Regions from separate parts of the Homo sapiens genome. Here region 1 is linked to region 2. Evidence: promoter capture Hi-C in human tissues and cell types (Jung and others, 2019). All regions are on one chromosome and are shown on one strand. Each heading gives the region's core, a stretch centred on a gene start or on the middle of the fragment in contact. The rest is flanking DNA. Distances are from core to core; before and after follow the strand shown.

The links. The method cuts DNA at HindIII sites, captures the fragments that hold promoters and counts their contacts. A contact is called where the count stands out against the background at its distance.
Region 1: the fragment with the promoter of SUOX here is called in contact with a fragment that was not itself captured in region 2 in 1 of the 25 tissues and cell types used here (aorta).

Annotation. Positions count from the first base shown.
Region 1 is chr12:55,995,830-55,998,529 of GRCh38, forward strand. It overlaps SUOX (sulfite oxidase), which reads left to right and starts at 1,447. Exons shown (of 5, transcript NM_001032386.2): 1 at 1,447-1,510; 2 at 1,786-1,894. RAB5B (RAB5B, member RAS oncogene family) reads left to right here. Exons shown (of 6, transcript NM_002868.4): 6 at 1-854. RefSeq lists an enhancer at 1,221-1,721 and a silencer at 1,307-1,496. The HindIII fragment of the contact is 9,188 bases long and covers 1-2,700 here.
Region 2 is chr12:56,456,468-56,459,167 of GRCh38, forward strand. It overlaps a transcript of MIP not described here. Among named protein-coding and RNA genes, the nearest start is that of MIP, 3.2 kb to the left of the region's middle. The HindIII fragment of the contact is 6,307 bases long and covers 1-2,700 here.

The DNA.
Region 1 (2,700 bases), core at 197-2,696, 460 kb before region 2:
AGGAAGGAGGCTTTTAGATAGTCCCTAACTGACTTCTCTGTATCTTCCTTTGGCTGAGACTTTTTTTTTTTTAGGTTGAAGCTCGCTTTCTCTCTCTCTCCCTCTTTCTCCCTCTCTCTCTCTCTCTCACTCTCTCTCTCTCCATATATATATACATATATATATATATATATATTTTTTTTTTAACAACTGGTAGGATAGGTTGGGCATTAGCCTTCTTCAGTGATTTGATTGTATACAGATTGAAATCCTTTCCATTTCCAAACACTTAAGAGCCAAAGCCAACTTGCCAACTTTTCACTGTCGGTTCCCTTACCTTATATCTCTTGGTAATACCCCCCACCCCCGTTCCCTGATTCCTGGTAAAAGCTCTAGTTGGAGAGCCGAAAGGAAAGGAAATGATCTTTCAAAATTAAAGGTGAACACCTTCACTTAAACTGATTAAAATTGCAGCTCCACCGTCCGGCCTCTAGAGGGCAGTGTATGGATACATTTGTCCAGATTGGGGGACTAGGTTTGATAAATTTTGTCCTGCATCAAATGACAAAAGGGTAATAGGAAATGTATTATATTTATGCCCCTTACTTTGAGATAAGAGACTACAACCTTCATACTTCGGGGTGTTAAGCTGCCATTGCTCTTGTTAAGGGGCAGTTTGTTTTTTAAGAGATGGGGTCTTGCTCTGTTGTCCAGGCTGGAGTGCAGTGCCGCGATCTTGGCTCAGTGCAACCTCGAACTCCTGGGCTTAAGCGATCCTCCCGCCTCAGCCTCCCGAGTACTGGGACTACAGGCGTGTGCCACCAAGGGGCGATTATTATTTTTTTTTTCTACGCAAAATAAAAGACGGCTATTCAGTGTTGTTGTTTCATTTTTGTTTGGGGAGAAATTCGACTAGCCCAAGGAATCTCAAATTCTTGGAACCACTATTTTAGGCATTTCTGTTATCATTCCTGGAATACGAGAACTAAGCGATTGACTTTGCTTTCCCTAAAAGATAAACAGGGTAGTTGTAGTTGCAACAGAGTAGATAGAGGTAGGTCTACCCTGGGTTTAAAGTGGAGATCACAGCCGGGGAAAACCGGACTGGATCCCGAGGCCTCCTCCAGGGAGGGGCGGCAGGGGTGTCTCAAAATCTCCCACCTGTCAGCCCAACTTTTGGATTCCTTGTCACCTTCCACACTGCCCGAGCTCCGGACATACAGCCCTGGTGCACAAGGGTCCCATTCTTTGCACACCAGGGGTATAATGGACTCCGGACTGTTGGCGAGAGTGACAGCAAAAAGAGCCAGCCTCTTCTCCCAGGCTTCTTAGCAACCTGCCTGTCTCGGCTCCAGGAGGCGGGTTCCAGCCAATGGTTGAGCCACCCGCTTCCAGCCAATGGCTGAGGGATAAGCTGAGGGGAGTGAGAGGTCACTTACTGCAGCCGGACATAACGGCGCTGGCCCCGCCCCTTCTCGAGAACTCGCAGAGCTGGGCTGGTAAAATTGCAGTGCTGAAGACACTGGACCCGGTAAGGAGACTGGGGGTGGTAAAGAAGCTGGGGAGGAAGGGCTGCTGAGCTGGGCAGCGGAGGGGGCCTTGGTGTCCAGCTGTGCTCCGAACCTCAAGGGCAACAAAACTATCAGTACCTGCCTCCACTCCTTCTGTCTGGGTGCTCTTGAGATCGCGGGGTGTTGCCGCAAGACCCTTTTGTGCCTGGATGCCGGACGTATGTTCCTACCTAACGTGCCCATGGGGAGTGAGGGGTCATCACCTGCACCAACGGGTGGCATTTCTGTATTACAGCAAAAGGCTGTCCCTCCCAAACCTGGGATTCTGGGCTCACTGAGTTCACCTGCGAGTCAGCCCTACCTGCACTGCTCTGGTCTAGTACAAACAGGCTGCTGGCATTGAGGTAGGTGGCAGAGAGAGTAATGGTCCCATGGCCCAGGGGCAAGGTGAAGACTGCTCCTATTCCCATCTCTAGGTTTCCTTTCCTCCCTACCCACGACCCACCCACCCCAGCACATTGGTCTCCAGCATCTCATCAGCAGTTTAGACATTTGTCACCCCTCCTCACTTTGGCCCTGCTGGGTCAGTGCTCTCTGTTCAGCAATTTGAGGAAGAAACTTGCAGGGCAGAGAGCAGAAAAATTACCTTCCTTCTCCAGCCTGCCCCTGACACTCTGGCCATTAACTCCTCAATTTGCTGAGCTCACTACAGTGGCACAGAGAAGATTGAGGTGGTCCGGGACCCTAGGTTGGGGTCCAGTTCCCAGCTGGGTTCAATTTTTTTTAGGGTGAATGGAGGGAGAGTTGGGGACTGAAAAGCCTTCAAAGACAATGTTATTACAGCAGTCTCCCCTTATCCAAAGTTTCCTTTTCCTGAGTTTCAGTTAGCTATGGTCAACCGCTTGGAAAATAGTTGAACACAGTACAATAAGATATTTTGAGGCTGGGAGTGGTGGCTCATGCCTGTAATAATCCCAGGACTTTGTGAGACCAAGTTTGAAGGATCACTTGAACCCAGGAGTTTGAGACCAGCCTGGGCAACATAGTAAGACCTCATCTCTACAAAAAAAAAAAAAAAAAGACCATGCATGGTGGCACACGCCTGTGGTCCCCGCTACTCAGGAGGTTGAGGCAGGAGGATGGCTTGAGCCCAGAAGTTTGATGCTATAGTGAGCTGAGATCACGCCACTGCACTCCAGCCTGGGCAGAG
Region 2 (2,700 bases), core at 102-2,601:
CTCTACTAAAAATACGAAAAATTAGCTGGCCATGGTGGTGGGTACCTGTAATCCCAGCTACTCGGGAGGTTGAGGCAGGAGAATCGTTGGAACCCGGGAGGCAGAGGTTGTGGTGAGCCGAGATCACGCCATTGTACTCTAGCCTGGGCAACAAGAGCGAAACTCCGTCTCAAAAAAAAAAAAAAGAACCAGTTACAACTGCTGGTGGGAGTATAAACTGAGATATTACTTTTTTTTTTTTTTTTTTTTAGACAGGGTTTCACCCTGTCACCCATGCTGGAGTCGAGTGGTGCAATCACAGCTCATTGCATTTTCAACCTCCTGGGCTCAAGCGATCCTCCTACCCCAGCCTCCCAAATAGCTGGGACTACAGGTGTTTACCACCATGCTCAGCTAACTTTTTTATTTTTTGTAGAGATGGGGTCTCACTGTGTTGCCTAATCTGGCCTCAAACTCCTGGGCTCAAGTGATCCTGTCACCTCAGCCTCCCAAAGTGTTGAGATTACAGGCGTGAGGCACTGTTCCCCACCTGAGATAATGACTTTGGGACACAGTTTAACACCTACTTATAAAGATGAACAAATTACATAATTTCTTTTTTTTTTCTTTGAGACAGAGTCTCACTCTGTTGCCCAGGCTGGAGTGCAGTGGCACAATCAGCTCACTGCAACCTCTGCAATTTTTATGTCTCAGCCTCCCAAGTAGCTGGGACTATAGGTGCCCACCACCATGCCCAGCTAATTTTTGTATTTTTAGTAGAAACGGGGTTTTACCATGTTGGCCACTCTGGTCTCAAACTCCTGACCTTAAGTGATCTGCCCCTCTCAGCCTCCCAAAGTGCTGGGATTACAGGTGTGAGCCACCATGCCAGGTCAAATTACATAATTTCTGACTCAGCAACTCCACTTCTCACTTATATACCCACGAGAAACTTGGGTAGCACATCGTGTAACTTTATGTAATTGTTGGCTGGGGGCAATGGCTCATGCCTGTAATCCCAGCACTTTGGGAGGCTGAGGCAGGCGGATCACCTGAGGTCAGGAGTTGGAGACCAGCCTGGCCAACATGGTGAAACCCCATCTCTACTAAAAATACAATAATTAGTCGGGCATGGTGGTGGGTGCCTGTAATCCCAGCTACTCGGGAGGCTGAGACAGGAGAATCGCTTGAACCCGGGAGGTGGAGGTTGCAGTGAGCCAAGATTGTGCCACTGCACTCCAGCCTGGGCAACAAGAGCGAAACTCAGTCTCAAAAATAAAATAAAATAAAATAAAATAATAGTAATTGTCAAGGTTCTAGTTTTTCTATTGGATGGATGGTTAGAAATGATGCTTAATTATCATTATTAAAAACAAATAAGTGGGAGCCATATATATAGGCCAATGAGGAGAGGATATCATGAACAACAAAATATTCTGTGTACCCCAAATTAATTAAAAACAGCAGTGACAACAATATATGCTTTACCACTTTCTAGTTGGGCAAGTTATCCCCGCTATATATAGGTTCCAGGAGGGCAGGGCCCATGTCTGATTTTTCACCAGTGCGAACCTGGTGCTTAACACACAGAAGGCAGTAAATAAATATTTGCCGAATAGATTAGATTAGCATAAGCTTGCTTGCTTTTTTTTTTTTTTTTTTGAGACAGAGTCTCTCACTCTGGAGTGCAGTGGTGCCATCTCAGCTCACTGCAACCTCCACCTCCTGGGTTCAAGCCTCCCAAATAGCTGGCATTACAGGTGCACGCCACCACACCTGTCTAATTTTTGTATTTTTAGTAGAGACAGGGTTTCACCACGTTGGCCAGGCTGATCTCGAACTCCTGGCCTCAAGTGATCCGCCTGCCGAGGCTTCCCAAAGTGCTGGGATTACAAGCCTGAGTCACTGCACCTGGCCAGATTAGCATAAGCTTTCTGAGTCTCAGTTTCCTCTGTATCAAATAAGATAATGTAGGTAAAGAGACTAGTACAGTGTCTGGCACAGAATAAAGCACTTAAAAACAGGAGCTACCTGCACCTGTAGTCCCAGCAAATCAGGAGGCTGAGGTAGGAGGATCGTTTGAGCTCAGGAGTCAGAGAGCAGCGTGGGCAATATGGCAAAACCCCTCCTGTACAAAAAATACAAAAATTAGCCAGGCACAATGGCACACACCTGTAGTCCCAGCTACTGGGGAGGCTGAGGTGGGAGGATGACTTGAGCCTGGGAGGTAGAGGTTGCAGTGGACTGAGATGGCACCACTGCACTCCAGCCTTGGTGACAGAGTCAGGCCCTGTCTCAAAAAAAATTGAAAATTTGGCTGGGTGCGGTGGCTTACACCTGTAATCCCAGCACTTTGGGAAGCTGAGGTGGGCGGATCATCTGAGGTTGGGAATTCAAGACCAGCCTAGCCAACATGGCAAAACCCCATCTCTACTAAAAATACACAAAAAAATTAGCCAGGCGTCATGGTGTTCACCTGTCATCCCAGCTACTTGGGAGGCTGAGGCAAGAGAATCACTTGAACCCAGGAAGTGGAGGCTGTGGTGAGCTGAGATCACACCACTGCACTCCAGCCTGGGAGACAGAGTGAGACTCCGTCTCAAAAAAAAAAATTATAATTAAAAAATTTAAAAAGTAAACAGAAGCCACTCAATGGGGTTTTATTAACAGGAATGGGTTATCTCTACCCACTAATCCTGTAGCCTCTTATAATAAGAGATG